Regions from separate parts of the Homo sapiens genome. Here regions 2, 3, 4, 5 and 6 are each linked to region 1. The links are contacts of gene promoters, found by promoter capture Hi-C in blood cells and fetal thymus (Javierre and others, 2016). All regions are on one chromosome and are shown on one strand. Each heading gives the region's core, a stretch centred on a gene start or on the middle of the fragment in contact. The rest is flanking DNA. Distances are from core to core; before and after follow the strand shown.

The links. Contacts are between HindIII fragments. The CHiCAGO score rates a contact against its expected background, and 5 or more counts as called.
Region 2: a contact is called between a fragment that was not itself captured here and the fragment with the promoter of OXR1 in region 1, in 2 of 17 cell types (megakaryocytes and endothelial precursors). The highest score is 9.1, in megakaryocytes.
Region 3: a contact is called between a fragment that was not itself captured here and the fragment with the promoter of OXR1 in region 1, in 1 of 17 cell types (endothelial precursors). The highest score is 6.6, in endothelial precursors.
Region 4: a fragment that was not itself captured here is called in contact with the fragment with the promoter of OXR1 in region 1 in 1 of 17 cell types (monocytes); the score reaches 5.1 in monocytes.
Region 5: a fragment that was not itself captured here is called in contact with the fragment with the promoter of OXR1 in region 1 in 4 of 17 cell types (endothelial precursors, monocytes, M1 macrophages and 1 more); the score reaches 6.6 in endothelial precursors.
Region 6: a fragment that was not itself captured here is called in contact with the fragment with the promoter of OXR1 in region 1 in 1 of 17 cell types (endothelial precursors); the score reaches 7.6 in endothelial precursors.

What each region holds. Positions count from the first base shown.
Region 1 is chr8:106,268,411-106,271,590 of GRCh38, reverse strand. It overlaps OXR1 (oxidation resistance 1), which reads right to left and starts at 1,401. Exons shown (of 17, transcript NM_001198533.2): 1 at 1,224-1,401. RefSeq lists silencers at 1,047-1,406, 1,427-1,676. The HindIII fragment of the contact is 2,469 bases long and covers 1-1,854 here.
Region 2 is chr8:106,527,730-106,530,751 of GRCh38, reverse strand. All of the region lies in intron 3 of OXR1 (oxidation resistance 1), which reads right to left. All of the region lies in intron 1 of OXR1-AS1 (OXR1 antisense RNA 1), which reads left to right. Among named protein-coding and RNA genes, the nearest start is that of OXR1-AS1, 130 kb to the left of the region's middle. The HindIII fragment of the contact is 158 bases long and covers 1,183-1,340 here.
Region 3 is chr8:105,938,511-105,941,548 of GRCh38, reverse strand. The region is part of intron 1 of ZFPM2-AS1 (ZFPM2 antisense RNA 1); the gene reads left to right. Among named protein-coding and RNA genes, the nearest start is that of ZFPM2-AS1, 120 kb to the left of the region's middle. The HindIII fragment of the contact is 574 bases long and covers 1,296-1,869 here.
Region 4 is chr8:106,556,232-106,559,263 of GRCh38, reverse strand. The region is part of intron 3 of OXR1 (oxidation resistance 1); the gene reads right to left. All of the region lies in intron 1 of OXR1-AS1 (OXR1 antisense RNA 1), which reads left to right. Among named protein-coding and RNA genes, the nearest start is that of OXR1-AS1, 100 kb to the left of the region's middle. The HindIII fragment of the contact is 731 bases long and covers 1,065-1,795 here.
Region 5 is chr8:106,579,873-106,582,880 of GRCh38, reverse strand. The region is part of intron 3 of OXR1 (oxidation resistance 1); the gene reads right to left. The region is part of intron 1 of OXR1-AS1 (OXR1 antisense RNA 1); the gene reads left to right. Among named protein-coding and RNA genes, the nearest start is that of OXR1-AS1, 76 kb to the left of the region's middle. The HindIII fragment of the contact is 581 bases long and covers 1,291-1,871 here.
Region 6 is chr8:106,005,887-106,008,909 of GRCh38, reverse strand. The region is part of intron 1 of ZFPM2-AS1 (ZFPM2 antisense RNA 1); the gene reads left to right. Among named protein-coding and RNA genes, the nearest start is that of ZFPM2-AS1, 53 kb to the left of the region's middle. The HindIII fragment of the contact is 2,076 bases long and covers 355-2,430 here.

The sequences.
Region 1 (3,180 bases), core at 152-2,651:
GCGACCCCGGGCCGGAAACATGCACACGCGCGCGCACACACGCACACACACGCCCCGCTGCGAGTTGCACGCTGCAGACTTCTGCCTGACTTCCCGGCCAAAAACACCGCACCTCTGGGGCCAGACCACGAATTCCTGTGGCCTAGAACTGACACCACTCCCCCTACCCCCGCAATACACACATTCAGACCCTACACTGCACCCTGAGCGTGCCGGGAACCACTGAACGGAAGCCCGAGCAGCTCCCCCCGTAAACGACTACCTTCCCCACTGCCTAATGTCTATTTAAATCTCCTAAAGCTCGCCTACAGCGAGCCGAGGTGCGTCCAAGCCGGGTAGTAGACGGAGGAGGAGCCAGGGGTGAAAGTGAACCTCAGATAACAGTACTAAATCACTATTCAAGGGGCGGCACGGGGAAGCCTCCAACCCTCTCCTGAACCTTTCAGGCCCTACCAGCAGCCCAGTTCCTCCGCCCGATACTGCACAGCTCCCCCCCTCTTCACCCAAATCCCTCAGCGATTTTCCAGTCGGCCCTCCAGGCCACTTTCTACATCCATCCTTTCCCCAGCCAGTTCCCAACATGTGGCCTCGGGTACTCTAGCGGGAGACAGATTCCAGGCTGACTCCATCATGATGTGCCCCCTAGCCTTTTACTGATTCCCCAAATTATCCGAATCCACTCGCCCCTCCGGAGCCCACTGTCCCTTCCACCGGCGTCCTTTGCTCTCGTCCAAATCCGCTTTCCACGCGCCCCACTTTCCACCCATCCTCCTGCCGTTCTGTTCAAGACACGCTTGCCCTCCACTCTGCGCCCCCAACACTGCTCTCACGCTGCTCCCACTCTATCCCCCGGCGACACCCCCACTTTCCTTCTGCGGCTGTCCCTGGCCGGGCTCCCGCGCCCCAAACCCAGCCTCCCCGCCCGGTCTCCTCCCTCGCCGCCCGGTCTCCTCCCTCGCCGCGCGGTCTTTCCTTCTTCCCAAGTCCGCCCTCTGGGCCCCCGCTGGAGCTAGTTCTGCCCTCCTGCTCTGCCCGTCGTCCCCGCTCGAGCATCCCAATGGCCACCCGCTTTCAAATTGGCTAAGTGGCTCGGAGAGGCGCCAGGCACAGGGGGCAGAGGCCAGCCGGCTCTCCCGGGCGCCAGCCGCGCCTCTCGCTATCCCTCCTGGACTCCCCCGGGCGCCAAGCCCTCGCCCTAACGCCCAGCAGCCTCACAAACTTACTTGCGGGTCGCCAGGAGGGGGCTGCGGTGAGCGGCGGCGGGCCCCGCGGCGGCGAGTGCGCCCCTCTCGGCGGGGCTGGGCGGCGCGGCGCCGGCGCTGAGCTCCTGTGGCCGCGAGGTGAATGGGCTCAGCCTGACGCAGCCCAGCTCTAGCCCCGCTGCTGCCGGCGCCGCTGAGCGCTTGCAGACATGCTCAGTTTCCGGACCTGCCCGCGTGGAAGCTACCAAGAGCCGGCAGCGGCGGGGGAGACTGAGAGGAGCCGTGGGGCGCCGCGAGCCGGAGGCTACCACGCCGGGGGCGGGGGGAGGCACGCACCGCTAAAAATAGCTCCTGCGGAAGCCACGCTGGCTTAGCGCGCACCCCTCCCCGCGCGCGGCCCCTCTGGCTGGGGTTCGGGTTTCTGCTCTGGCTACCGCGGTGGGGACCCCAGCTCGCCGAGTCCTGCCAGGCGTCTGCCTGCACTAGGATCCCCATCCCGGTGGAGACGGCGCCTCCAGTTCAGGCGCCCACTCGAATAGCCTGGACTAAGCCAGAGCTGCCCCGATTTCGGGGTCCCGCCTGTCGGGCAGCTCTAATACTAGGCTCTCCCTAGAGAAGCAGAGGAAAGTTTTGTTAAAGCGATAAAAAAGCTTCTGCAAGGAAAGCTGCAAGGAAATTTGTTCAGATTTACGGAGGAAAAAAATGTTCTTCAGATGCTTTGGTTGCTGGGAAAAACAAGGAGGAAAGGAAGGCGAAGTCTGACAGCCTAGAAAGGGACCCAAGGCAGCTTGGAGCGGGCTGAAGGGGGTTCTGCAAAGAGCTTCTAAAATTCAGAATTCTTTGCAAGGCGTTTGTGACTCCTCATTCCGCAGTGTTTTGCATAATTCGTTGACACCCCACCCTGACCTTGGAGATTTTCTTGTTCCTGTCACCTGAACTGTAATTTACTTTCTCCGCATGCTGCCTTCACTCCTTCCCCCTCCAACCCGGTTTTAAATTGCAAAACGAAAAGGGCGCAAACTCTGGATGGGTAGATTCCCAGACCTGAACTGGAACCTGGCTGTTCTGTAACCCTGAGGAAAGGAGCTGGTCCTGTTGCCGAGTTCGGGATGTATCCCAGATCTCCTGTGCATCCAGCAAACACTTCAAGCGTAGGAGCCTTTCAGCCACCTCACCTGCAAATTAGCTATTTCCCGCTATTAGTGTTCACTCTATTCTACCTTAATTTCTGATCATTTATTATTATTTTTTAATTCTGTTCTTTAAAGTAAGAGGTACAGATATTTCCTGGGTCAAATTTCCGTCTTGTTTCACTCACCTCTCACAGCCACCCAATGAGAGAATCATTATTATTCCCATTTGACAGACAGGGATGTTGAAATTTAGCGACAGGAGCTCATCGCTTGTCTGGAATAATAGAGTGTTGAACCTAGGGTCGGCCAGACTAGAAACTTTCATGGTTTCCGCATAACCTATTTCCCCGAGTCAATAGCTTTACCTGAGATAAGGGATCAAGAAAATTAGATACTATTCTGAGTGGCGTGGCGTGTCAACAGTAAGCCGATTGATAAGCCGATTGCGGGTTTTGTTCTCCATTATTTTTACCTAATTTCTTTACGAGCATTCGCAGCTTAAATTTTCTGTTATGTTGAAACTGATAGCGTTTAATTTTTATTCTATCAGAAAGATTTTACTGAGAATCTTCTACAAGCAATGTATAGACTAGGTATGTATTTTATAATTATCTCAGTTCAGACTCTGTGATAAAGCTACTTTGTTTTCCCAGTATTATAAATTAGTTAGACTTTGCTAACCCTACTAAGTAATGTACATGTGATTTTTTCATAGAACTGTAGTGGAATCTGTCTATTTGGGTCAAGATGTCCTCCCTCCTAAGATATTTGCGCCCTTCCATCCCCACTTGCAATTTAGTGCCATGTGCACCCCAAAATAAGTAATCAATTAAGGTTTGATCTTT
Region 2 (3,022 bases), core at 12-2,511, 260 kb before region 1:
TTACTAATAGCTTGCTTCTATGTAGATGTACACATAATATATAGGGAATGTATCATGAATGGTCACTGTAACATTTATAATCTTCAGTTGAATTCACAGTTTTTAACTATAGTAAAAGTAGTTTCAAAACTTTGGTAGAAACAGCAATAGAAGATTCTCCCCCCAGTTGTGTCTGGTTTTTACCTATTTTTCCATTCTCATAAGTAATATTCTTTCAGTCATAACTGTTAACATGGTCAAAATTTCATTGACCAGCATAAATCCTGTAGTATTTTTACATGTAAAGAAATATCTTGACTCGGTACGGTTATGCACACCTGTAATCCCAGCTACCCTGGAGGCAGAAGGCTGACTTGCGCCCAGGAATTCAAGGCTGTAGTGAGCTATGATCGTACCACTGCTCTCCAACCTGGATGACACTGAGACTTCATCTCATAAAAGAAGAAAAAACAAATAAGAAAATATATATCCTTAGGTACAACGTGGGAAGAAAAGCAAATTAAAAAAAATCAGGAGATACCAATAGTTTCATTTCTGAATGTGAGCAAGATCCTAGAAGCTCTTTAAATTCATACTCCTAAAAAAATGAAAACATTGGGAAATGTAGACATATTACTTCACTGTTCAAATCGCCATTAGTTCTATCTATAAATGTTTAAAATAGAGTAGGTCTTGCTTAATAATTTGTCATTTTCTTCCCCTCACCATTATTCAGTGAAATGGGATGTTCATAGACGTGTTAGCAGGTTAAAAGGGCAAGTTTTGTTTGCTAACAGCAGTGAAAGACTAATTTTAATAGTGATTTAGGAAATTTCAAACAGGATCATGCTTATTTCTCAACCATGAACAATGTCCATTTTAATTATTCCATAAATTAAACCAGTATAGGTTTAATTGGGCAGTTTAGAAATCATTAAATAAATTGACAGATATAATTTGTTTTTGAATAAGTTATAAGACTATTAGGCTGTAGCTCAGACATAATACCAAAACCATTTGCTCAAGGAGACCTCAGGGTTACTGACATTTCTTAATCTGTTTATCATGGCCATGATTAAGCTGTGTTTCTTGATTCTGGGTTGATTACTTCTGACAGAGAACAATCACAGAATCAGGGCAAAAAAGAATAAAGCAAATCTATAAAATAAGGTACTAATGCTATAAAACTAGAGTTGGCAAGCTTATTTAACAAATTATAGGCACTACAAATTTATAGGAATATCAAGCAAACATATTTTTTCTCATTCTGAGAATACCTCCGGTTCCTTGGTAAATTTTAGTTAAAATTACATAAATGATTGGTTAAAAAAAATCTAATTTATCTTGAAAGAAATAAAGCTTTCATATTAATTTTAGAGTTGAAAGTAGTTTCAGCTTGTGGGATTTCCTTAATCTCATGTTTTAAAGTAGATATTAAATGAAATAAATGAAAAATGTTGTAAAATAAAATCCCAATCAAATATCGCCCCCAACAAACATGCACATGGAGATGTAGACTGTCAGAAACATATATTGAATCCCATGGTCTTATTAATCCACAAATGAACCAAAAAACTAAACTTGAAATCTTGATATCCTCAAATTCCACTATCTTGATAAAAAAAAATTCCATATTGGCTACTTACACAAACTTTGAACCACTCTTCAAAAGCTGTGAAATGCCCAGGTCCACTTAGGGACTTTTAGCTTCCATGTGTAACAAGAAACCTCAGCAAATGAAATAATTTTCCCTAAAAATTTTTGTGATCCAGAAAATGTAAAAAGCCATCAAACTGTCAAAACAAATTTCAATTCAAACAAAGTCATAGTTCTCAAGAATTTAATTTAATTGGAATCCTCAGAGCAGCTATGTGTTTTAGTTTCTGTGCTTATAGACAGTGACCTGCATGCCAAGATAGTTCTGTTGATTAAATCACAGAGACTTCCTGCTTTTCCATGAAGAATCTTCTAACTTGGAGAGAACGTTCCAGGTCAGTGGTGACCTAGTTTCACACTGCAGAATGTGCCACCTCTAGCAAGATTAGTTTTTTCCTTTTATTTTTTAACCTCCTGTTATAGTATTGTTACTTTAGGGTTATCTTTTTTATTAAATGAGAGGCGTACAAGTTATGTGATGATATTTTAAAGTGTCTGGTGTACTGCAATTAAAAAGCAGTTAAATATGTGTCTTGCTTTTCTCTTCAGAGCTTCCAAACTAGTTATTACTGTTTTAATTTTGCCTACTACTGAGAAGAATTCCCAGGGAACCCCTAATTCCATAGGCTCTCTTTTCAATATGTAAGCAGCCTGGGGTTAGTAAGATACAAATTTGTATTTAACTGTGCATCGTTAAGTTTGGAATGTTGAAGGTATTCTATCCTGCAAGCAGGGCAAAAGACAGGATCATTGCATTGGATTTTAGAATTTGCAATTTCACAGACCATCACAATTTTAAGAGAATATTTTAGGGACCATTTCCCAACTTAATATTTTGACAAGTAAAATAATTTTAAAAGAACAGACTTAAACAAATATCCTAAACTGATACCATAACTAAGCAGTCATTTCACAAAAGACCATTCATTTTAACACAAGGAGGGAAGGAAAGAAGGAAAAAGAGAGGAAACAGGGTGGAAGAAAGAGCAGAAGGGAGAAAGAAAGGAAAGAGGGAGGGGACAAAAGAGGAAAAAAGAAAGAAAAAATGGAAAGGACAGTCACTTCAACTAAGTATCGTCTTATGAAAAACTACTGTTCTTTTATTATTGCATCGTTTTCACCATCAATGGTATAGACTAGCACTTGGGGAACCACTCAATGAGATCTCCATCAATGATCTAATTTCATTTTTGTTTTTGAAAAGAGAATTTGATCTGAAAATCAATGTAGAGGATGAGCTCTTTACCACTGGCCATTTTACTTAGATTGTTCCCTTGGCTTTGAAACTATTTACAGTAGGACCATGAATAAGTCATTTAACTTCCAGAGACTTAATTCCACTCACTCTATAAAAATGTTATAAGCATTTATTAAATTTAGTAAATTC
Region 3 (3,038 bases), core at 333-2,832, 330 kb after region 1:
TTTTCTAAAAAATTAAAACAAATTCAAGTCTTTTTATTTCTCCTTTTATAAGCTTCTTTTAGAGTGAAGATTAGAAGAGCACGGTGAAAAAATTCTTTTTTATTTTTAAGATCGTACATTTTGTTATTTTATGCTGAAGCTAAGTTATATTGACAGTGTTTATATAATACTTAATAAATATTAATTCTTTATTTTGTTGGACAAATCAAAAATTGTGGTAATCTGTTTACACCTAAGAAATTTTTCTCATTTTAAAATAAAGAATTTTTTTTTTTTTTTTTTTTGAGACAGAGTCTGGCTCTATTGCCCAGGCTGGAGTGCAGTGGTATGATCTCAGCTCACTGCAACCTCCACCTCCCAAGTTCAAGTGATTCTCCTGCCTCAGCCTCCTGAGTAGCTGGGATTACAGGCGTGTGCCACCACACCCAGCTAATTTTTGTGTTTTAGTAGAGACGGGGTTTTGCCATGTTGGCCAGGCTGGTCTTGAACTCCTGACCTCAAGCGATCCACCCACCTCGGCCTCCTAAAGTGCTGGGATTACAGGCATGAGCCACTGCGCCTGGCCGAAATAAAAACTTTTGAAATAAAAAGAGTTGGCCTAAAAATATGTATTTACATGCTTTCAGCAAATAACTAGTAATTGAAGATGGCTAAGTTTATCTGAATTCTAGACTATATTCATTTTATTAGATACAAACAGTTTAGTTGCCAAAATGAAAACAGCATAGACGTAAACAAAATCCATCGATGGTTTGATTGAAGTGTAGTAAAGACATCAGAGTAATTTCTGTCGAGTGCATTGAAGAGTCAGAGGCTCTTTTAGGTCTGTCCAAATCATGAATTTTATCTTATGCACGGGTGTTCATTATATTGAGTTTTGTCCTCATTTAATTACTACAGGAACAAATTATGTTCTACTGGGACTTTGAGACGGACAGTTGATGACCCTATAGCATTGGGGATTAGAGATAAGATGAAATGGAGTAGGATTTTCACATAAATGATCATATACCCTACCGATATCTCCAGACTCCTGATTCAAGTGTCTCTAAGAGGCTTAACCAGTTATTAAACACATGACCAAAATGACAAGTGATAAACTATAAAAGATATCCTTTAAAATGAAGGTGTAAGTAAAGAAAGTCAATAGGTAAATATAAAGTGGTGTATTCTTGGGATCAGAGGATTTGTGGTTTTGGTTGTCATCTCTTTCTCTCAATGGATGAAGATCACCAAATAAAGATCACCAAATTAAAGTAGATAACTAATATAAATAGTTAAAATGCCCCCAAGCTTTTAAGACAAAAATAATCATTCAAGCCACTTCATTGCAACAACGATGGCCAAATCTATTTAAATAACTCTATCTACTTTGTGCTGCCACTCCATCTTGTGGCCAAATTCCAGCCAATACTTGAAAAGAATTTTAAATGAAAACAGAACACGAACTCTTAGTGAAGAGACGTCGTGGGTAAACTAACATCAAGTTTGAACCAGTTCTATGTGCTTCAGCATTTTTAACAAGGTAACCACATTTTAAAAAGATGATTGACAAGCTAATGTACTGCCAGAGGATGAAAGCCATTATGGCAAGATATTAACAAACCATGCTTTATTAGGAAACAGCCAAATGATGCAAGGGACATTCATTTATTTAACAAATATTTGTTGAAAACGTATGTATCAGGCACTGTTTTAGGATTGGACTTTATTGCCATGAATGAAACATAAGCATTTCTGTCTCATGGAGTGTATATTTTACAAGGGAAAACAGATAACAAATGATCTAAATATCTAGGGTACAAGATAGGCATAAAAAGTTGAGTCTTCTCCTCTCAGTATGACTCTCATAAGAAAAGTTTGCAAGCTTTGGGGGCCATTTTTAAAGTGTAGATAATAATAAAAATTTAGCCAATATCAATATATTGCACATGGGCTCAAAACACAATTTAAACCAAATGATAGAATTCTGAAATGATGACACAAGAAAGTTTAAAACAAATATTGTGATGTGTTTTTCACATTGGGGCAACTAATGAATTACCAGAAATTTCGTTTCCTTATTAAAAGGAATCTTAATTTCCCACAGATGATTAGTTTTAATGTTCAAATATGTATGAAATGATAGGTATAATGCTCAACAGATTTAGCCTCCTCATAGGGAAACAGAAGGCCTTTGGTGCAAGAATTTCTCCCTGTCTGAAATGTCACAGTACCCCAAATTTGGATGTGGAGAGGAGACTTGAGTTAAGTGAAATATACAATGGATGAAAAGACGAAGGGAGTAGAGATAAGCTGGTGGGCAACTAGATGGGAACCTCAATTGTGTGGACACGGGGGTAGGCAGCAAGATGGAAGGTATGTTAGGAACAAGTGTAGAATGGCCAACTAATCTAACTAGTTTTTTCCTAGAGCTGATGCTGGGCACAGAAGGGCATACTGAAAGATAGTGGAGCTTTGTCATATTCATGTTCAACTTGGAAGCAATTCAACATTATAAAAATTTAGATAGGTTGGGTGTGGTGGCTCATGCCTCTAATCCCAACACTTTGGGAGGTTGAGGCGGGCAGATCCCCTGAGGTCAGGAGTTCGAGACCAGCCTGGCCAACATGGTGAAACCCCGTCTCTACTAAAAATACAAAAATTAGCCAGGTGTGGTGGCAGGCACCTGTAATCCCAGCTATTCAGGAGGCTAAGGCAAGATAATTGCTTGAACCGGGGAGGCAGAAGTGGCTTGAGCCGAGATTGCGCCATTGCACTCCAGCCTGGGCAACAAGAGCGAGACTTCATCTATGTATATGTATATATATATATATATATATATATATATATATATATATATATATATATATATATAAAGTTAGATGGTAGTTGTGGAAAGGGTATGGGCCTTGAACTCATACCAAAGAGGCCAGAACTGGTGGCTCACACCTGTAATCCCAGCACTTTGGGTGTTCATGGCGGGCAAATTGCTTGAGCCCAGGAGTTCAAAACTAGCCTGGACAACGTGGCAAAACCCCATCTCTACAAAAAATAAT
Region 4 (3,032 bases), core at 181-2,680, 290 kb before region 1:
GAAATCTCAGATGGAAATGAGGAACATGCTACTGGAAGCTGGAGGAAAGTCCATCCTTGTTATAAAGTGACAAAGAACCTGGCTGAATTGTGTTCGTGTCCCAGTGTTTTGTGGAGGATAGAACTTCTGAGTGATTAAATGGGGTATTTCAGAGAATAAATATCTAAGTAAAGTGTTGAGAGCGTGGCATGGTTTCTCTTCACTGATTATAGAAAAATGCAAGAAAATAAAAATGAATTAAAGGTGAAATTTATAATCAAAAGGGAAGCCAACTTAAAGATTTGGAAAATTCTCAGGAAAAGACACCATCACTACCACCTTTTCTCCTAAGAATTGTTGCCCTATTTCCAAGAAGTATGTATATAATGTGTGCTTGTTCTTGATGTGGGTTTATTGGCATTTAGGGTAGGAGGGATGGACAGACACATGGATATAAGCAGTATACTTGTTGTGAAGATATAGGGAATACCAATGCTAATTGGGCCCTCACATCCTATGTGATTCATCTCACTTGTTGAATTCATCATCTTATGATTTTGGAAAAGATTTTCGGTTGTCTTGCAATAAGGTTGTTCCTAATAAAAAAAGTAGAATTCCACAAAACAGTAGTTTTACTGTGATTTCTGCTATTTTATGGGTATATTAATAAGATATCAAGATGCTTGGGGCAACCTGGACAGGAAAAGGATTGTAATATGAATGGGACAGGGCTAACATAGCCAACATTTAACCATTGTGTATCAGAATACTTTGTACTGGCTAATATATAGCTGCTGCCTTAGCCTTCCAATGGCCCTCTCCCTTGCTGTCCCGGATCCTCCATTTGGCCTACCAGGCCACCTGATTATCTAGGAACTAGAGGACTGTCAATCACCTGGCAGGGGGAATCCAGGGTGGTGATTCTGTACCAGGGCAGTGGCTTTGGAATTGCCAGCTCATAGAATTCTGAGTTTGATAAATGGTTGTTGTTTTAAGCTGCTGGCTTTTGGGCTGCTTTGGTACATAGCAATACGAAAAGGCTATGTGCTTTTACTCCCCAGAGTAGCCTCTTCAAGAGGGAAGCTTTTCCTATGCATATGTCCTAGAATTAGGAGTTCATTACTCATGTGATTCTCACAGTAACTCTGTGAAGCCATGATTGTTACGCCCACTCTGTACATGGTGAAATGGAAGTTTAGAGAGATAAAATGACTTCTTCCAAGTTAAAAAAATCTACTCAGTGGTAAAGCGGAAGTTCAAAGCCAGTCTGACTTCAAATCATAGAGATTAACAATCACAGTAAAATGTAATATACTTTGCTTTGCTCATATATCTTCAGTTTTCAATTCAGTTTCTGAGTTATGTTTAAATTATCACTTATTGATTTTTCCTTCTTTATTGAGATGGAAGTCTCTTCTTAAAAATAAAAACAAAAGGAACAAGGCAAGTCTCAACAAAGAACCCACTTCTGAGAGAAAAATTCTGTTACCAACATGTGTGGCCTTTAACCCTGCATAGGACAGCAGATTTTATGTACAACTGTAAGGGCTTGTTCTTGCAGCATTTTAGCTAAATTCATCATTAGGTGCCTGCAGAGAGAGCGAATAAATGCTAAGTCCCAATATTCCTTTTTGTTGCCAGAGTATCCTATGTGATGAATTCAACATGTGGAATCTAGGAAAAAAAAATTGAGTTGCCTTGCAGTAAAGTTATTCCTAATTTAAAAAAAAAAAAGTAGAATTCTAAAAAACAGTAGTTTTACCATGCTTTCTGCTAATTTATGGGTATAGAATTTTGTAGCTCAGATATACAAGCTTAGGAAATGCTACTCACCTGAGTTGCCTGTCAATCACCAACATTATTGAGGAAAAACTTTAGTCTAGAACTCTATGAATAACATAACCCCAAACTATATGATTTACATAATTAAAATTTCATTTTAACCTGAACATTACCTTACAGCTATGTATGGAATTATTTCCTATGCTTCAGCTTACCTTAAAAAGAATAGCAAGAAATGAAAATGGTTTTAAGTACCAATAAAGTGGAAAGATGTCTTTAAATCCTGTTGATCAGCTTTTCAGGTATATTTCCTCAATTAGAACAGGAAAATAATCTTAATTAATTGGAAGGGCTCAATGTAGGAAATGTTTTATTAACCACAATTAGAGCAAACACAAAGGGAGAAAGGAATTTGAGTTTGTATATTATGTGTGAGAAGAAAAAGAAAGAATTAGATTCATATAAGAGTTTGGGGAAAAAAGAAAACTGCAGGTGAGTATTTGTTCAAACTGCGTAAATATCTTCAAGGTTACAAAATTAATGAGGGAAGGGAATTGCTCAGTCTTGGATGATGAGAGCAAGAAGCCACGGCTCAAAGCTATGGGAGGAAAGCTCAGACTAGCTGTTAGGAAACACAGTGAGTTAGAAAGAACATTTAGTGGTGAAACATATACACAGAAAAGTGACTGTGAAGCAACACCAGCAGAATCATTACATAATCAGTGAGGAAAGATTATGTAAAACAGACTTGGCATTAGCTGGTCATCTTGCATAACAAGGGGCTTCTGATCAGCTTTTGCTGGAGTGAGTTTTCAATTCCTTTTTTGCCTTTTGATTCTTAAGGACATATGACTTCCTACTAAGCTCATCTTTCTGTGCATGATCTCATTTAATTAGAACAATTTGTGAATTAGATCTTTCTATAATCCTGTTTCCCAGATGAAGCAAATGAGGCTGAGAGATATTAAGTATTCCACCCAGCTCACACACACACAATAAAGGCAGAGGCAGGATTCATTTGGGATTCTCTACTTCTTGATGTTTACATGACTGGCTTCTTATCATTTAGGTCTTAAATTAAAAGCAATTTCCTTGGAGATGCTTTCCTTGATGGCCCAATCTCAAGTACCCACTTACTGTCCCACATCTCTCTCTGATGACATCATAAGGAACTTTTAAAAATTATTATTAGTAAGGCAAAATGTGCATAACATAAAATTATTGTAAAGTGGACACTTCAGTGGAATTTAGTGCATTTGTAACATTGTGCA
Region 5 (3,008 bases), core at 332-2,831, 310 kb before region 1:
GCCAAGAGACTGTGACATTGGTTTGGTCCATCATGTCCCTGAAACGTATAAGACAATTGATAAGGAAGATGCTTCTCCAAAGTCTTATTATTTTATAAATTAGTAAGTTCTTTGTAAAATAAGCCTGCTTGTCAAGTGATAAGCTTTAGTGGTTATTTTCTAAAAAGAGGAAAAACAACACTTCTGTGGCTTAATAAGCTTTTTTCACTACTTTATAAAATGTGGTGGGTGTTTTTCCTCTAACTTCATTATTATTAAGCTTTGCTCAGAAACTCAATAAGGAATTTGTCTCTTTAACATTAACAAAGACTAAATTAAAATGTTGTAAAAGACTGCCTACTTTTATTTAACGCTCTCCATTGTGGAATACTACCACCAAGAAGAAATAATTGTAAGCTCTACAATGGCAGGCACAATTCTGTTTTAGTCATCATGCCAGCTAACCAGCATAGAGAATATGGGAAGAAAAACCTTGTTGTCCCCAGGTTTGCTATTTTCAGCTGCCACAAAGAACAAGTGCTTTGTTTTTAGTTTATTCTTAACTCTTACTCCTATAGTTCCAAATAATCTTGTTTTACCTAATAGGTCTTTGTTATTTTTATTTCTCTCCAAGTGAGCTGCCCTGGATTTTGAATTTTGATCAGTATTTACCTTCATATATATATATATGTTCCTTCATATATATATATATATATATATATATGTCAATAGAAAAAAATCTGTCTTGCTTGTTTTTTAAATCCATTATTGTTATAAATTATCTGATAGGTTTAGAAAATTTACTAGTCACTGGCTAGAAAATGATAATTTTCTTTTTGTTGTTGTTGTTTTTTAGGTTTTTTTTTTTTTTTTTTTTTGAGACAGAGTCTCATTCTGTTGCCCAGGCTGTGGTGCAGTGGTGCGACCTCAGTTTACTGCAACCTCCACCTCCCACGTTCAAGCGATTCTCCTGTCTCAGCCTCCCTAGTAGCTGGGATTACAAGCACCTGCCACCACACTCAGCTAATTTTTGTATTTTTAATAGAGACAGGGTTTCTCCATGTTGGTCAGGCTGGTCTTGAACTCCTGACCTCAGATGATCTGTCTGCCTTGGCCTTCCAAAGAGTTGGGATTATAGGTGTGAGCCATTGTGCCTGGCCCTGAAAATGATAATCTTCTTTTCTCCATACAAGCAATTTTTTAAGAATCTCAATATGGTTGTCTCAAGTGTGACATTAAATGTATTAGAAGTTCATTTTATTCATCTGCGTTCATGTTTAAAATGAAAAAAGACATTTACTTCTAGAAGCTTCTATGAATGAAACAGGAATTGGAAACCAGAAAAATCAAGTGACATTAATAGAAATAAGACAAATGTTTAAAAGGTTTTTTTTAAAAAAAAAACACAGAATCAAAATATTACTGACAACACACATATTCTTTTCTCAAAGTCAAAAGTTGGCAATTTCTAATACTCCATAAAAGGGCCACTAAACAAATATCCGAATCTACTATTATTTGCATAATACTCTATTTGGTTAATTTATACATTCCAGTAGCAAGACTCCGCTTGCCTCAACAAGTGGTTGACATTTTTTAGGCAAATGAAAAATTAAAAAAAAATAGAAAGGCATGATTTCAGAAACTTACTTCTCAGCTTCATGGATATTGGGCATATTTCCTTGGAATTCAGCTTTCTGCAGCAGTGGTTTGTCAAGTTCTCTTTCAAATGTTCTTGCTATTTCACCGGATTATTTCCATCCAAAATTCTAAATCTTTAAGTCTAGACTGTCTTTGAATAGCACCATATTTTTCCTCCATCTTTAGCAGACTATTGAAGTGAGAAGTCTACACCTTCCCACTTGTCTTCCTCTGACTAATTTTAAGAAGCTTTTAGTGCTGGGTAAGACAGTGGTAGCCACAAGAATGAGGAAACAAGCATGTGTTTTAGGTTCAAAAGAGCAAGTCATTCATTTACTTAAGGAATGTTCAGGAAAATATTTAGCTTCTGAAAGTGAACACACTTGAAAGGCTGGATAATATTTAAATATATTGGCCCTGCATTTTTGCTCACAAAATATTAGCTTAAGTCACATATTTCTTGAAATAAAAATTATATTGCATCATTAAAAAAAGAAAAAGATATAATGTTTTACAGACAATAGCAAGTGTTGGTGAGAATGTGGAGAAATTGGAACTGCCATGTACTATTGGTAGGATGTAAAATAATGCTACCACAATAGGAAACAGTATGGAGTTTCCTCAAAAAATTAAAAAAATAAATAAATACCATAGGATCCGATAATCTCAGTTCTTGGTATGAATTCCAAACAATTGAAAGCAAGGTTTCTATAAGATATCTGCATATTTATGTTCACAGCAGCACTATTCACTATTGCCAAGAAGTGGCATCAAACTACTTGTCCACCAATGAATGAATAGATATACAAATGTGGTATATATGTACAATGAAATATTATTCAGTCATAGAAAGAAAACCCTGTCATGTACTACAACATGGATGAACCTTGAGGATATTAGGCAAAGTGAAATAAGCTAGTCACAAGAAGATAACTATGTAAGATTCTACTTTTCTTAGGTATAGAAAGTGGTCAAATTCATAGAAACAAAAGAATTGAGGGAGGGGAAAAGGAGAGTTGTGATTTAATGGGTATAGAGTTTCAGATTCACAAAACCAAAACAGTTCTGGAGATGGCTTTTACTATTATGTGAATATTCTTCACACTACTGAACCATACACTTAAAGATGGCTAAGATGGTTTAAAAAAGACATAATGCTTTAAAGGATACTTGTTGAAATTATTCTCATGCCTATAGTTCTGTGCATTTAGAGTCACAGCTGCCAGTCAATCATACACAGGAAGAAAATGCTGGCCATCAGTATGCTTTCCAATCTAAATCATGAATAGTGATTTTATGCAGCTGGCGGGAAGTGTGTGGTCAATCAGAATGCACATGCTTCTGCTGTGAGCCTAGGATGATAAAAGCATTTGCTCTGCTGCCATGAG
Region 6 (3,023 bases), core at 143-2,642, 260 kb after region 1:
TTCCCTAACATAGTCTCCTCCAGGACTAGAGGATTGCTTAAGTATTAACCTATTTGAATAAGGATCTGATATTAGGACTGATATGGCCTAATTCTTGTCAGTGTCCTCCTAGAGGAATGGATCATTTCAGCCAGTGAAGGTATGAAGGATGACACTTCACAGCCAAAGACTGGAGTTGTGTAGTGAATGAGCAGATTGTCACACTTTACAATGCGGTCATTAACTTACCTAGCTCTAAGTACTCCTAGTCTCCTAGACGTGAACTTCTTGCTGACTGTTACTTACAGCACTGGAGTAACCTTATCTGTCCTCATACATTTCAAAAATTGATAATTGCCAGACCAGAGCCAAGCTTGCTCTGACATTGAATACTATGTTTTGAGCTGTATAAGCGTCTTATTTTGGATCAAATTTTGCAACCATATTTTGTTTGCTTTAGTGTTAGGCAGTCTGAGTTGCTAAGATCACATCCAATAAGCTGAACCCTCTCGTATTATGACTTATCTGTGAAGCAGATATTACCTGTGAATTTATCATGCAATTTGAAATTCAGAATTTCTTATGAAAATAAAAATTTGAACTATAAATAGTTTCAAATTGGAAAGCTCTTTGGAACTAGTATTATCATTTATGTCTTGACCTGAAAATAACAGAAAATAACAGCTTTTTTATTGAGTTTGGATGTTAAAAACCTTGAAATGTTCAAGAATTAATGAGACATTGAAGTTCAGGAGCAGAGGTTTATTCCTGGCTGAATCATTTGTGTCTAAAACATTTTTATTTCAGGCCAGAAAGAGTCCCCAAAGACTCAGAAGATTTGTACTGGTCTATACAGTTCAGTACACTCTATGCTTACCACTGTCAAATGGGAAAGACAAGGCTAGAAGATTTAAAATTTTAACTAACAACATTCCCATTGCTAAGATTTCAACACAGGTGAATTGCCGCTTTGTAAATTTTGATGAGAACAACATGAAATATGAATGGTTTGTGTGTGTGTTTGTGTATACAGATCACATATACATGTGTTTAATATATATACATCTGACAATTACTGGGTAATTATTTATATTCACATTTAAAAATTCTATACTGTAATTTTAGTGTGAGTAAAGACAATAGAAGACCATTTTGAAGAAGTATATGGAATATCTGTTACAATATTCAACAGAGTTATGTTTGTTCCGCAAAATAAACTATCAGAAGCACCAAGAAAGGAATAACTGCAAACTATTACCACAGTAAGAAATGTAAATTTTATAGACTTCACCTAATTTAGTCCAAATAATAAAGTGTAAGTTAGATGCACCAATGCTGCTTTATTCACATTTGTTCAACTTCATAATGTTACTTATTGACTTATTTCTTCTATAAGAAAGTGGCTGATGATTCTGTATTGAACCTCAGTCAAGGCATGCAATAATAGCTAGAATGTGATTATGAAAGTAACACCTAAAATATTGTACATCTATTTTCATTACCTAAAATGTGCATTTTTATATTATGCATTTTTATATTATTTACAAGCAGGCTGAGGAGATGAATGCTCCCAGTTAATCAGTCCTTTAAATAACATTATTTGAACTGTATCAGGAAAAGTGAGAAATTACAAGAGAAAAATACAGCAGGCCGGGCGCGGTGGCTCACGCCTGTAATCACAGCACTTTGGGAGGCCGAGGCGGGCGGATCACGAGGTCAGGAGATCGAGACCATCCTGGCTAACACAGTGAAACCCCGGCTCTACTAAAAATACAAAAAAATTATCCGGGCGAGGTGGCGGGCGCTTGTAGTCCCAGCTACTCGGGAGGCTGAGGCAGGAGAATGGCGTGAAGCCCGAGGGGCGGAGCCTGCAGTGAGCCGAGATCGCGCCACTGCACTCCAGCCTTGGTGACAGCGAGACTCCGTCTCAAAAAAAGAAAAGAAAAGAAAAGAAGAATACAGCATAATTCTCTATGACTTATTCTATTTCAATAGCATTTGCATATAATTTTGAAATACAAGTGACACACATACAAAAACGAAGCCACCAAGTTGTAACAATAAATAAGAAAAATAATTGCTTACTGCAATGGTATAGAAAAAGTATATATCACTTGATATTATAAAAATAAGATTTAGGCAGAAAGGTTTAGTTTAGGGAAATTGGCATTATTATAATATCCTAGAATGTTTTTAATGTGTATGTTTGTGTCATTGTCAATGTCAAAGCAAATGTCTCCAAGTCATTGTGCAACAAGCTATTGCTAAAACATGACTATCTCACTACTGCATGAGTTTCCCAACCTTATATGAGGTCTCTATTGTCTTCTCCCCCCCAATATAATAACTTCAAATTCCTTACTTTCAGTGTATTCCATAATTTGTCTAGCTAAAGAATTGTATATATACATAATATATGCAAAATAGTCATGTACGTACACACACAAAGCTTGAACCATCACCATGAAAATATTAGGGAAAAGCAGGAGACTCTTTAAAATACATTTTAAAAGCAAGAAAAAGGAGGTAAAGGCAACATAAGTAGGGAAAACATATTCATTCCGTTTCAGCAGAGAGGCAGAAACCAGATAACATATTTCATTGAATCTAAAAACCATTCATTTTAAGATGAACAGTTTTTCTTGTACCACCAAGAAAGAAAAAAATGCTTCCAATTATACTATGACACATTATTGATGAGAAGATGCATCTTAATTTCTGCAGTACTAACGTGTGAAAAAGTTTTTTAAATTGATGAAACATGTACTTAATGTTTTTCATCTTTCTTTTATTTTGAGGGGCTATCTTCCTTTTAAAGTACCCATTCTTAATATTAATATTTCAGATTAACATTAACGTTAAGTTTTACTTCCAAGTAACTGAAATGGTAAATGAGAATGCTAACAGGCTGTAAACATTTCCTTTTTCCATGAGTTACTTCTGAAATCTAAAGCGTGTTTAGTGCCCCATTCATAAGGAAAAGATTTGCCCTGCAAAAGAACAAGTCATAGATTTGATACAAGTGAGTTTTATTATTAAGTGCC